Regions from separate parts of the Homo sapiens genome. Here regions 2, 3, 4 and 5 are each linked to region 1. The links are contacts of gene promoters, found by promoter capture Hi-C in blood cells and fetal thymus (Javierre and others, 2016). All regions are on one chromosome and are shown on one strand. Each heading gives the region's core, a stretch centred on a gene start or on the middle of the fragment in contact. The rest is flanking DNA. Distances are from core to core; before and after follow the strand shown. Region 1 holds the start of CDKL2 (cyclin dependent kinase like 2). Region 2 holds the start of LOC105377284 (a long non-coding RNA gene). Region 3 overlaps USO1 (USO1 vesicle transport factor). Region 4 overlaps USO1 (USO1 vesicle transport factor). Region 5 overlaps USO1 (USO1 vesicle transport factor).

Evidence for each region. The method cuts DNA at HindIII sites, captures the fragments that hold promoters and counts their contacts. A CHiCAGO score of 5 or more calls a contact.
Region 2: a contact is called between a fragment that was not itself captured here and the fragment with the promoter of CDKL2 in region 1, in 3 of 17 cell types (activated CD4 T cells, megakaryocytes and neutrophils). The highest score is 6.7, in activated CD4 T cells.
Region 3: a contact is called between a fragment that was not itself captured here and the fragment with the promoter of CDKL2 in region 1, in 3 of 17 cell types (total CD8 T cells, naive CD4 T cells and naive CD8 T cells). The highest score is 6.8, in total CD8 T cells.
Region 4: a contact is called between a fragment that was not itself captured here and the fragment with the promoter of CDKL2 in region 1, in 8 of 17 cell types (total CD4 T cells, total CD8 T cells, naive CD4 T cells and 5 more). The highest score is 8.5, in total CD4 T cells.
Region 5: a contact is called between a fragment that was not itself captured here and the fragment with the promoter of CDKL2 in region 1, in 1 of 17 cell types (total CD8 T cells). The highest score is 5.1, in total CD8 T cells.

Annotation. Positions count from the first base shown.
Region 1 is chr4:75,629,157-75,631,902 of GRCh38, reverse strand. It overlaps CDKL2 (cyclin dependent kinase like 2), which reads left to right and starts at 1,375. Exons shown (of 14, transcript NM_001330724.2): 1 at 1,375-1,861. The HindIII fragment of the contact is 1,829 bases long and covers 57-1,885 here.
Region 2 is chr4:75,821,096-75,823,841 of GRCh38, reverse strand. LOC105377284 (a long non-coding RNA gene) reads right to left here and starts at 1,325. Exons shown (of 5, transcript XR_938891.2): 1 at 762-1,325. The HindIII fragment of the contact is 3,434 bases long and covers 1-2,746 here.
Region 3 is chr4:75,799,473-75,802,218 of GRCh38, reverse strand. USO1 (USO1 vesicle transport factor) reads right to left here. Exons shown (of 24, transcript NM_003715.4): 14 at 2,487-2,597; 15 at 1,750-1,868; 16 at 1,420-1,601; 17 at 1,019-1,140. Among named protein-coding and RNA genes, the nearest start is that of USO1, 76 kb to the right of the region's middle. The HindIII fragment of the contact is 509 bases long and covers 1,156-1,664 here.
Region 4 is chr4:75,782,832-75,785,577 of GRCh38, reverse strand. It overlaps USO1 (USO1 vesicle transport factor), which reads right to left. Exons shown (of 24, transcript NM_003715.4): 9 at 2,720-2,746. Among named protein-coding and RNA genes, the nearest start is that of USO1, 60 kb to the right of the region's middle. The HindIII fragment of the contact is 1,528 bases long and covers 644-2,171 here.
Region 5 is chr4:75,761,179-75,763,924 of GRCh38, reverse strand. All of the region lies in intron 4 of USO1 (USO1 vesicle transport factor), which reads right to left. Among named protein-coding and RNA genes, the nearest start is that of USO1, 38 kb to the right of the region's middle. The HindIII fragment of the contact is 2,755 bases long and covers 1-2,746 here.

The DNA.
Region 1 (2,746 bases), core at 126-2,625:
GAATATGATTATAAAGTTGCAAAAGTAAAATAGTTTTGCGCTCTTGTTCTTAAGCTTCAGGCCCAACAAAACTGAATCTACCCCCATATAAAAGAAGTTCATCAGATTCTCTTATAGCCTATAGAGGTACCAAATGGGACAGGGCTTCTCGCAACTTGGACACAGCTAAGGACAGAGCTAATTGCTACACTAAGAGTCACATCTTGAATTGACCAAATAATTCTATTCTTTCCATAACTAGGCCTCAGGTCTGGTTCTCAATATTACAGGTTCAGGAACTAGATTTTAAGCAGTCTGACCAAGGTAATTAACCACTGGGAGATTAATGCAAACTAACCAAACTCACAAAAGACTATAAAAAGAATGTCTATTTCTTAATGTACAAGAAGGAATCAATACCTTAACATTAATGATTAATACCTTAATATTGACTAGGGTATATGGTAGACATTTGTCTATCCAGGACACTCTATTCCCTAAATCAAAGTAGTTTCGAGACCAAAATGATCATGAACATTTAGTTATCATGATTGAAAGTGTTATTTTACTGGCCTTATGGCCTCCTCGCTGCCTCAGATTCTTTGAAAATGGGGTAAGCTCTGTTCCTGTGTGATTTAAGCCTGTGCATGATTCTGACCTACCAGTCTTGCTCAGTCGTGGATTGAGCTGCATTTTTGCATTTAAGGCAAGTTTTATCGCAAGCCCTAACTCCACCCCATTTGGCTGCCATACGCGGGTGTTGTGCGTGTCCTCCAGATCCCCAGCCATCCCAGCGCTTTCCCATTCCACTCATGCCCTCTCTTCCCCTTCCTCCATCTCAGTGTTTTCCCTCACTTTCAATGGCCAGACTGGCCTTCCCAAGGTCCCTCCTAACGTCAGGTCTGTCATCACCTACCTTCTTCCACCTTGCCTCGCCTACTAATCATCACCTCCTAAACTGTCACCGTTATCTCCTACCTGGCTCACACTGGCCCCACCGCCCAGAACAGAAAGGAAGCATGGAATCCCGGTCAGGCCGCGCCTACGCGACTCAGGGCGCCCGGCGCCCGCCCCTGCCCCAGCGGCGATGCTATGAGGGAAACCGTATCGCATTTTGCATAGTCTTCGCAGTCCTACATAACCGCCACCTTTACCCTTCGCGTGGGCATCACAATCGCCTCCTCCCGCTGGGGAAGGCAGAAAGGCGCCTCCTGACGAGAACCAAGGCGTGTGGGGACGCAGGGCCTCTGCGTGTCAGGGAGCAGAACCTGGGCCGAGCCCTAGGTGAAGGGGCGGGGTGGTTGGCCCTGAGCCAATCATGGCTCGTGACGACTCGGCTCGGCCAATCAGAAGAAGGGAGGCCTGGCGCTCTCGGGGCGGGTGAGAAACCGCCCCCCCTTGCAGCTCCGCGGCCAACGCCTTCGCCCAGGGGTAGTTGGAGCGGTGCAGGTTCCCAGGCTCCAGGTACTGGGCGCCTTACGAGCTGGGAGGTGGTGCCTCTCACCCAGCTAATTGCTCTCTAGCCCTTGGCCTTCACAGGTGTTGGTGCCTGCCGTGAACGCATTCTGACCTGGGCCGTATCTGTCTCCCAAGACTTTGTGCCTATGGTTGGGGACAGAGTGAGGTCGTTGCCTTGACGACGACAGCATGCGGCCCGTGGTCCTCCTAAGTGTGAGCTTGCGGCGGACCGAGGCCCACCTGCCTCCCTGCCTGCTTCGCCCTGGACTCGTGACTGCGTCCGCAGAAGAAATCACAACAGCGCTGGAATTGCTAGTTTGCTAGGCAGCATCTTTTGGACCTGCGAACCATATGCATTTCACCTCAAATTTGTTTCCAAGTTGAAAACCTTTGGGTCTTTCTATGCGAACGGATTGAAGAAACGGTAAGTATAGTACGTTTTAAAGCTTCTATTATCTCGTTCTTTGATCTATAAAAGATTTCAATCTTTTTTTTTTTTTTTTTTTTTTTTTTTTTTTTTTTTTTTTGAGACGGAGTTTCACTCTTGTTGCCCAGGCTGGAGTGCAATGGCATGGTCTCGGCTCACCGCAACCTCTGCCTCCTGGGTTCAAGCGATTATCCTGCCTCAGCCTCCCAAGTAGCTGGGATTACAGGCATCACCACCACGCCCGGCTAAGTTTGTATTTTTAGTAGAGACAGGGTTTCTCCATGTTGGTTAGGCTGGTCTCGAACTCGCAACCTCAGGTGATCCGCCCGCCTCGGCCTCCCAAAGTGTTGGGATTACAGGCGTGAGCCACCGCTCCCGGCCCTTTAATCTGTCTTAAACAAAATAAAAAATTAGCATTCTCCAAATATTTTTATCAAAATTGTTGCTTTTAGAACCATCCAGAAATAACACCTTGCCCATTGGCCAGGTTTCTTTTTCGTTTGTATTACCTTTCCGTTCAAGAGTAGAAGGCATGAGAAGTTATAGTTTATGAGTAACTGTTTCAGGAAACAGGAGGCTTTGTAGGCTGTGATACTTTTAAAGTATTTGTGGACAGTGTCACTTGAAAAAGCAGGTGTGTTCAATGTGGTGTGTCCAGATATGCAATTGGTTGGGAGAATAAACTTGAAGCAGTCAACTTGCATTAATGTTAGCTTGGGATATGCTTCAGAACACCTCAGACATGCTTAAAGTCATTTTTTTTGGTTCACTTTGTGCTTTCAAATATTGAGGACATCAATTACAAAATGTTTTAAAATAATCCAGGTTATAGATTCAAGCTATTTTTGTCATTGGTATGATAAACCTAAAGCCTAGTGCTTA
Region 2 (2,746 bases), core at 94-2,593, 190 kb before region 1:
AATGAACCTTTGTTAAGCACCAGGCACTATTCTAACAATGTTGCATGTCAACTGTTAATCCACTTAATTCTCATACTATTCCTGTGAAGGTAAGGTATGATGATTGTCCCTGTGTTATGGATAATAAAATTGAAGTAATTTGCCCAAAGTCACACAGTTTGAAAGTGGTGGAGTTGGAATTTGATCCAAGGTATTCCAGCTCCACAGTCCATACTTTTAACCATTGTCCTAAGTGGCCTCTCCAGAAATGAGTGTTATTCTAATTTTACAGACGAAGGAATAAGCGGTTTGCAGAAATTATGTAACTTGCTCAAAGTCACTATTAGAATTATAATGCAGCCGGGCACGCTGGCTCACGCCTGTAATCCCAGCACTTTGGGAGGCCAAGGTGGGCGGATCACAAGGTCAGGAGCTCGAGACCAGCCTGACCAACATGGTGAAATCCCATCTCTACTAAAAATACAAAAAAAATTAGCTGGGCATGGTGGCGCGCACCTGTAATCCCAGCTACTCTGGAGGCTGAGGCAGGAGAATCGCTGGAACCCAGCAGGAGGTTGCAGTGAGCCTAGATCACGCCATTGCACTTCAGCCTGGGCGACAGAGCAAGACTCCATCTTAAAAAAAAAAAAAAAGAATTATAATGCTGAGATTTTATATTAGGTCTTTTGACTTCCCACCAGGTTTCCTTCAATAATGACAGGAGCAATAACAAAGTTAACACTTTCATATAGGGCTTACCATGTACTATGCACTTTACTTACATGGGCTCATTTCATCCACAGCTCTGTGGCATTCGTATTATTATTACTGCCAGTTTACATGAAGAAGTTGAGGCACAGAGAGGTTAAATAACTTGCCCAAAGCCACACAGCTGGAAAATGGCAGAGTAAGGATTTGAACTCAGGCAGTCTGTTCTCAGAATCTACACTCTTAATTATGACATCACACAGCCTCTCCATGCTGTACACTTGTGTTTCTCAGGGGGAACCAGTAAGGGAAAAGAGGAAAGGGAAGGACACTAACATTTACTGGTTATGCTTCTGTATCCTCTCATAGATTATATTATTGTTGACATTTTCACTGCCCCTCTATATCAGATGTGTCCTTATGGGATTATGCTTTGCATTGATATTAGTTTGGACATGACTTGCTTTGGCCAATGACATGTGAATGGAAATGTTGCCACTTCAAAGCAGAAGTTATAAATGCCACTGTGAGATTCTGCCATCTCTCGTTTGCCTCTGTCACAAGACCTGCCTTTCCCAGAGAGAAGTTGCTGCTTTTTTTTGAGACAGGGTTTCACTCTGTTGCCCAGGCTGGAATGTAACGGCACGATCTCTGCTCATTGCAATCTCTGCCTCCTGGTCCCAAGCGATCCTCCCACCTTAGCCTCCTGAGTAGCTGGGACTATCGGCATGTGCCACCACTCCTGGCTAATTTTTGTATTTTTTTTTTGTAGAGATGGGGGTTTTGCCATGTTGGCCAGGCTGGTCTCCAATTCCTGGGCTCAAGCGATACACCTGCCTCACCTTCCCAAAGTGCTGGGATTACAGGCACGAGGCACTATACCCAGCCAGAAGCTGCTTCTTCAGTGTTGGTCTTGAAATGAAGATTTGGAGCAGAGCCACAGCTGGCATGCCAAAGATATGAATGTGTACAAGAAGTACCTTTGGGTAAGCCACTGAAATTTAAGACTTGTTTGTTTCTACAGCATAACTCAGCCTAAGCAGACTTTTATGTGTGTATTAAAAGTTTAAGGCTGGGCGTGGTGGCTCATGCCTGTAATCCCAGCCCTTCGGGAGGCTGAGGCAGGTGGATCACTTGAGGTCAGGAGTTCGAGACCAACCTGGCCAACATGGTGAAACCCACTCTTAGGCCAGACGTGGTGGCTCACGCCTGTAATCCCAGCACTTTGGGAGGCTGAGGCGGGCAGATCACGAGGTCAGGAGATCGAAACCATCCTGGTTAACATGGTGAAACCCCATCTCTACTAAAAATACAAAAAATTAGCCAGGCGTGGTGGCCGGCGCCTGTAGTCCCAGCTACTCGGGAGGCTGAAGCAGGAGAATGGCGTGAACCTGGGAGGCGGAGCTTGCAGTGAGCCGAGATCGTGCCACTGCACTCCAGCCTGGGCAACAGAGCTTCTGTCTCAAAAAAGAAAAAAGAAATTCAATAATTTTAATCTTCACAATAACCCTATTAGGTAGGTATAATTAGCTCCAGGAAGAAACTAAGATTCTTAGAGGTTTTGTAATTCGCTCAGAAATTTAAAAGTGTAGGAGCAAGGGTTTAGGTTTCCTTCTTCCTAACATAACCCTTGTTTTGTTTATGTATCTATCACCCACCCCGAGAAGTGTGCTTTAAGAGGTGCTGCCCACTCACCTACTACACACCAGGAACGTGAGTGACTAACTGCAATTAGTCAAGGCAATCATGGTGGTTTCATTCCCTTTGACAGTAATAGGTTTGCCAGTAAATGGGTCTGTGAGCCAATTATGACCATAAAACAGGAAGATGCAAATTGAGGATCTGAATGCCAATCCTGCTTCAAATACAATTCTGTCCCTATCAGCACCAGTCACAGGTTTTGGTTGCCAGTAAAACTCATATGATATAACAGACTTCATTCTAATACTTCATTTGTTAACTTTATAGAGTGATACAATACAGGAATACGGAGTGCATAGTATCTTCATGTCGTCTGGAGGCTCAGAGACTACTATGTATACATTTTCTTGGCCTCCAT
Region 3 (2,746 bases), core at 161-2,660, 170 kb before region 1:
AATTTATTGATTGATTTACTTTTAAACTGAAAAGCTTAGAATGAATGCTAAATATACCACAATATTTTCATTCTTTCTTAAAATTTTAATCTCAGTAGGCTGGGCGCGCTGGCTTATGCCTATAATCCCAGCATTTCGGAAGGCTGAGGCAGGGAAGGGAAGGGATCACCCGAGGTCAGGAGATCAACACCAGCCAACATGGTGAAACCTCATCTCTACTAAAAATATAAAAATTAGGCAGCGTGGTGGCACACGCCTATAATCCCAGCTACTTGCGAGGCTGAGGCAAGAGAATTGCTTGAACCTGGGAGGCGGAGGTTGCAGTGAGCCGAGACTGCGCCACTGCACTCCAGCCTGGGAAACAAGAGCAAGACTCTGTCTAAACAAAAAACAAACTAATCTCAGTAATGTAGATTGTGAGGAAGAAAATAAGATATAAACAGTTGTCAATTTAAAGGGTTCTATCTATGCTTTTACTTGCCACACCTGCCATAAACTGTGCACAATTAGTAGACAGGTGTGGAGAGCAGTAGAGGGAAGGGGATGAATCTGTCCCACAGGGTCTGCCACTATTGTATTTTTTTATGACACTGGAATTTTAACAACATTAATAACCTCATTTTTCAGCACTTTCTAGAATTCCAATCAAGGTAAATATCATAAGAAATTAAATGAGAGTAAAAGTCAAGAAAACATTTTGAAGGAATATAATGAAGGTTTAGGGTACTCAACACAATGCAAGTAATGAAAGTTCACTGGTATCCTGGAAAGAAAATGTCAACTGATGATTCCGCAATTGTAGTTTCATCTTTATCCACTCATCATTATCTAATAAATCAGCTGCATGGTGCTTAGCACATATTAAGCACTCTGTTTGTTGAATACTCAGATGCTTTGAAAAATGATGGGTTTTGCTTTCTATATCCTCTTTCATTTGAAATGTCAGAAAAAAAGGCTCCCTTAAAGCAGAAAGTGCCTATTGGTAATCAGAGGGTATATACAGTTCATTAGTACTTACCTGCTCTCGAATCATATTTTTGTAGTGAGTCACAATATTGTCATGCTGTTCTAATGTTTTTTTCACCTCTTCTTCTTTTTTATCTTCTTCACTGGACTTATAAATAGCCTTAGTTATAACACCTATAAAAGGAAGCTTATTTAAAATTTGTTTTAAATGTTTTAAATACTATTTTACTACTAAGACTTAGTAAAAACATATAACCTAACTCCATGATAGGTAAGAAATAATCTTTTCAATCCTACTGAAAGCCAAATGTCCTTCAATGGGCTACAGATCAAGAGCTAGGAAGAAAATATACCTTTAGAGTTACCATATAACCTGTATGCATCCAGAATATACATGTACAATATAAATATAATTACTTTCCATCAAATATCAATATAAATCTTCAGTCTTACCTTCAAGTTCTTTTACCAGCTTCGTAAACTCATGATCAAATATCATGTATTCTGGACTGGGAAAGTTTGGCTGGGGTTTCTGAGATGCTCTGGAATACAACTCATGTTTGCTAATAAATCCTAGTTTCTCTATGAAATTCTCTTTGCCAATCCTCTTCTCAATCAGTTGTTTTAGCTTCTCTCTACGGAGATAAGCATATTGAGATGCTTTAAAAAAAATAAAATCAAAACAAAACATAAAAGCTTGGTCTACATAATGCTTTGGCAAAAAAAAAAAAAAAGCATCATTATCTCTTGATGCCATTAGAAAACCATCTTCCCCTTACTTACTTCATGTAGCTCTCAAGTGAGTTATCATTGAAATAAATCGAAATGCCCAACAAAAGGGCACATAAGCCTTGGACCAACTGCTCTTCTTCTCCAAGATTTTCTGCAATTTGTCCTGTAAGCTGAAATCTTTGTTAAGGAGGCTAAGGATTGAAAATATCTAGTACATTTTGCAATTTGAATTTGACATACATTAATACTTCACATAAGAGTTCCCATAAGAAATTCCATATATAGGCTAGGTGTGGTGGCTCATGCCTGTAATCTCAGCACTTTGGGAGGCCAAGGTGGGTGGATCACCTGAGGTCAGGAGTTTGAGACCAGCCTGGCCAACATGTCTCTACTAAAAATACAAAATTAGCCGGGTTGTGGTTGCGCACACCTGTAATCCTAGCTACTCAGGAGGCTGAGTGAGGCAGGAGAATTGCTTGAACCTGGGAGGCGGAAGTTGCAGTGAGCCGAGATCGCGCCACTACACTCCAGCCTGGGCGACAGAGCAAGACTTCATTTCAAAAAAAAAAAAAAGAAATTTCATATATATATTCCAACCCGGCATAAAACAAACCACACACACACAACTTAAACAAGCATCATAACAACTTTAACAGTTTAAAAAGTTGCAACACAGATAAGATAGTGGAGAATTCAAATATTTTGGGCATAGAACTACTTCTAATTGAGGAGAAAAACTAAAAAAGATATAAATACTTACATGTACGTTACTAAAACATAAAGGATACAAATGGAACATTGGCTGAATTGTGAAGAAAATGCGTTACTGCAATGGGACAATTGCTTAGCCAGGTACAAAGCAACATTAATAATCCAACTCTTGTTTGTATTTTGCTTCCCTGCAACAGATAAATTGGTAGAAATCTTTCCATTCATTTTATATTTTTCAAACTTAAAGTTGCCCTAAGATCCCTTCCATTTGCATGAAAAGAACTTTAACATCTTACAAGAGATGAGCCAGAAATCCAGTTTTAAAAAACTAAACAAG
Region 4 (2,746 bases), core at 158-2,657, 150 kb before region 1:
AGAAAGCAAAAGTAAATTTACAGAAGTCATATCAGGACAGTTTATGACTTAATATATAAAGTTTCTAATAATTAAAACTACCCTAGAATGAAAATGATTATCTTATAAGGTTATGAACTTTCTGGGAGCTATTGGCAGTATCTTCCCAATAAAATGCCATAGAAGAGACTCCTGCAGGGATAAAAAGTAGACTAGCCATAAAACTATAATTTTTTAAAAAAATAAAATATTTTATAACTAAAAAACTTTTCAAAAGATGTTTTCCCTAAATATAGTCTGCAAAATTTGAATTAAAACTCAGCAAGCAGATCAATTCTGTTTTTAGTAGCTCAGAATGCAATCATGATAACTGTGATGATGAATAGTTCCAACACAGAATGTGTATGTCCCAACAGGAAAACAATGATGCATTTTTATTTAGTGTATAATAGAGAACTTAAAATCCAAGCAACTCTAAATAAAGTTATACATAAAGTATTCCAACAGGTTCTAACAGAATAGCAGAAGATAACTCCTGGCCTGTAAAGTCATGAGTGAATCTACTATTCAGTATTGCAGGTGGAGAATATATTAAAATGAATTAAACTCAGTTCCTCTGCTTTGGAGTTTACGGTCTTCACGACAAGTGTAAGAGATAAAAGCTTTACTAAGCTACAGAAAGTCAGTTTATTCACTTTTTAAAAGTAAAGAATTCTTAAAGAATCAACTTGTTATATAACGAGAATACTGTATTTTTCTGTTTACATGCTGTACTCTAATAATTTTTTGGTAATTTTTTTTTTTTTTCCTGAGATAGAGTCTCACTCTGTTCCCAGGCTGGAGTGCGTGGCGTGATTATGGTTCAATGCAGCCTCAACCTCCTGGGCTTAAGTGATCCTCCCCTTCAGCCTCCTGAGTAGTTGGGACAATAGGTGGACACCACCACACCGGGCTGATAAAGACCATGTTGCCTAGGTTGGTCTCAAACTCCTAAGCTCAAGTGATCCCCACCTGCCTTGGGCTCCCCAAGTGCTGGGATCATAGGTGTGAGTCACCACACCTGACCTACTTTACTTTTTAACAGTGACACTTCCTTCAGAATAATTCTTTACATAGTACCCTAAACCATAAAACATGTGTAGCTTCCTCAAACAATTTAAATTTTCACTGTTTGATACGAAATACATGCTTTTTTATATCATCAGATTCTCTCACCCTCTCTAATCACATTTTGGAAATTACTTTTCTAGAGGAATTTCCTTATTTAAGAAAGCAGTGTAGGCCGGGCATGTGGCTCACACCTATAACAGCAGCACTTTGGGAAGCTGAGGCAGGAGAATTGCTTGAGCTCAGGAATTCCTGACCAGCCTGGCAATACAGTGAGACCTCATGTCTACTAAAAATAAAAAATCCAGTCAGGTCTGGTGGCTTGCGCCTGTAGTCCCAGCTATTCAGGATGCTGAGGTGGGGGGATTTCTTGAGCCAGGGAGGTTGAGGCTGCAATAAGCTGTGAAGACACCACTGCACTCAGCCTAGGCAACTAAGTAAGAACCTGTCTCTTAAACAAAACAAAACAAAATAAAGCAGTTTTGAACAAAGGTATCAAGGTTACCACTTGGTGACACTGTTTCTAAAACATTAAAAAACTATTAACTTCTTAAATGTATAATACCAACATTTGAAAACAGAAATGATGAGTTGGGAGTACAAATAGACTCTGTAACTAAGTTCTCCTGGTAAATACTTTTGTAACAGTTTTTAGGCATATTCTAACTAGGGTAACTGCATAATTTATAATCCAAACCAGGACACTTTTGAAGTGAAAGAGGATGCTATTAGTAATTACAAAACGAGTAATGTACTGGCAAACTGGGACACAGATTACCCTAATTATCAGTCCTATGCAGGCAACTCCCATGGCATGGGACAACATTCAGCCTCTAATTACTAGCGGACCTAACCATCTAGTTAGGTCCACAACTTCCGAGAAACACAGGTATAATTCAGAGACATTCAAAGGCCCACAAGAATTATGAGTTCATAAGTAAGGAGACTAGTATAAACTTAACAGTTTGGAGAAGGAGGATTCAATAAAGGAGTAAGTAGACTACTTCAAAGAACTTCAAAATTTTCTCTGATGAGGAAATAATTTGGGATCCTACTGTCCTCACTTTTATTATTACCACTAAGCTTTCACCATAAAGGATCAATAAATCACAGGTGGTCTGTCAATTTAACATGTTTTGGACTTAAAACTCAGACTAATCATCTTTGGGGGCAGGACATGATCATTTATTTCCTAGCATCCAGTGCCTGGCTCTCAGTAAATGCTTACTGAATGAATTTATTTGAACTTAATAGTTTGAATATTAAAATTTATCCTATTAGAGCCCTAAGTGAAGAAAGCAGGTTTTTAAAAATTCAAATCAACAATGTAACCTATTATTCCTTAATGTAAAACCCATCAGGAAACTGTATGTCTGAATTTGCTTTAAAATCATACAGCAGAGAGGAATAAACGATGAAACAAAATTGCCAGATGTTAATAACTGTCAAAGCTAAGTAATGGGTAGGCAAGATCTCTAGCTAGAGGATAACTGCAAATTTCCATATTACAGTTTTTTTAAGCCAACCTGAAATCCATCAAATATTCTGGATTTATCAAATACAAGCGATTTTCTTCTCTTTGAAAAGATCACTGTCAAAATTCTTACCACATTTATGTCTAAGGATAGTATACCTGTAGCATTAGATGTAGATTGGTCAC
Region 5 (2,746 bases), core at 122-2,621, 130 kb before region 1:
TAGCAGTAAATTAAGCTACAAACTACTATAAACTACTACACTAATATCTAAAAGTTGTGAACAAAAACTAGAACCATGAGAAATTATACCAATTATACGTGTAAGCAAAGGCATGAAACAAGTAAACCATCTTCTCTCATCATTAATCATTAGATTACAACCTTTATAGCTAAGTTTTTTATAGCCTATAGTTTATATATTATATTGTGCATTTATAACCTGTAAATGACCATTTATTGTAAGGTAAATGAAAAAAATAAGATAAAAATGAAATGGCCCTTTGTTACCATAGTAAAAATAAATTTAATATAGGAATGTAAAATAAAAAAATGCCCGTTCTAAGTACTTACACAGATGCTCCTCAATTTACAATGGGGTTATGTCCTGATAAGCCCATCAAAAACTGAAAATATCATAGGTTGAAAATGTATTTAATATGTTTAACCTACTTTAAATGTGCCCAGAACACTTACATTATCCTACAGCTAGGCAAAATATAACAGAAATCATATTTTATAATAAAGTATTATCTCATGTAATTTACTGAATACTGTACTGAAGGTGAAAAAACAGAATGGTTGTATGGGTATTCGAAGTATAGATTCTACTGAATGTATATTGCTTTCACACCATCGTAAATCAAAAAATCGTGAAGTTGAACCATCATCTGTCTGTATAGCTCTGGATAGTTTTCAGGCCTGTTTATATGGCTGGCATTTAAGTACGCATGCATAGATATATTTACTCTTCAAATGTATTTCTAGTAGTACTTTTTCCAGAGGTGTAAACAATATTTAAAAACATTTCTGGATCTTCTCTTTGGAATTCTATTCTATACTAAGTTCACAATCTATATTATGAAGAAAAGAAATTGCTTTATAAAAGGAGATATCCTAATAAAATCAGTCCTCAGAGTGAAGAAATATCAAATAATCTTCGTTTATACTGGTAGTTAATTAAACAGGTACATGTATACTTTTTTTGTTGTTTTTGTTTTGAGACGGAGTCTCGCACTGTCGCCCAGTCTGGAGTGCAGTGGCACGATCTCTGCTCACTGCAAGCTCCGCCTCCCAGGTTCACACCATTCTCCTGCCTCAGCCTCCCAAGTAGCTGGGACTACAGGGGCCCGCCACCACGCCTGGCTAATTTTTTGTATTTTTAGTAGAGATGGGGTTTCACCATGTTAGCCAGGATGGTCTTGATCTCCTGACCTTGTGATCTGCCTGCCTCAGCCTCCCAAAGTGCTGGCATTACAGGCGTGAGCCACCGTACCTGGCCAGGTACATGTATACTTTTTAACATTTATCTGAATATTCTATAAACTAGTTTTGTGAATTACATGATTTAATAAAGAACCCAGTCAGAAAAATAAAGAAAAATTGGCCACAATTTATTGAATTAAAAATCTAAGAAATACTTTAAAAAAAAAAGGAAGGAAAAAATGTATTTAAAAATATTGTTCTGGCTGGGCGTGGTGGCTCATGCCTGTAATCCCAACACTTTGGGAGGCCAAGAAGGGCGGATCATGAAGTCTGGAGATCGAGACCATCCTGGCCAATATAGTGAAACCCTGTCTCTACTAAAAATACAAAAATTAGCTGGGTGTGGTGACACTAATCCCAGCTACTTGGGAGGCTGAGGCATGAGAATCGCTTGAATACAGGAGGCAGAGGTTGCAGTGAGCCGAGACTGTGCCACTGCACCCTAGCCTGGCAACAGAGTGAGACTCTGTCTCAAAAAAAAAAAAAAAAAAAAAAAAAGTAAAATTGTTCTTCTACTTACTCAGTGATACCATATAAGTTACATCATCTCTGGGCTTCCATTTTCTCATCTTTAGAAAGTAGAAAAATACCACCTACCTCACTGGCTGCTATGAGGATTACATAAGATAAACATGAAAGATAAATTTTAAAGCTCTCTACAGTATCACAATAATAGAAACAACTACTGATCTTTACTACCCAGCAAGGAAATAGCTTGACAAGAGTCAAGGCACAATGCTCTGGTATCATCTGATGTCAAACAAGAGATTCAAATGTCACAAAAGGTAATGCTTCATACTTTAATAAGTTAGTTTATTTGTTAGTATTTTTATTATATATAGGCAACTTTGTGATGTACCTTTTAAACACTGCTTTAGATACGAATATTTCCTTCTTCATTTAAAAAAGTTAAGCACCTCAAGGAAATTGGTAAAACAAAACAAACCAAAAAAACTTGGTTACTTTAGTTATGAAGAAAACAAGTATCAATGTTAAAAGTAAATGAAACTTAAAAGAGATTAGAGAGAAGAAAATAAAAAAACTAGTGAGTTCTACGAGTTAAGGTAAGAAATGTCAGTAACTAAAACATCATTACTGAGTATGCATTATTTTAAAGGGACAATATCAATATACATTCTCTGAACTAGAATACCTTCCAGTTCTTACTGAATATAGGTAAAAAATATATGTATACATACTGAAATATTACTTTTATAGATTTTTGTTTGTTTGTTTTTTAGAGGCAGGGTTTCACTATGTTGTCTAGCCTTGAGTGCAGTGGGTATTCACAGGTGCAATCATTGCTCACTGCAGCCTCGAACTCCTGGGCTCAAGCAGTTTTCCCACTTTAGTCTCCCAAGTAGTTGGCACTACAGGCATGCACCACTGCACTTGGCAAGTATTTTTAAATGAACTGTCTAAAAACTTTTTTCCAGGAAATACACACAAGTAATTTTGAATAAATTGTCCTACCAGAGAAAAAG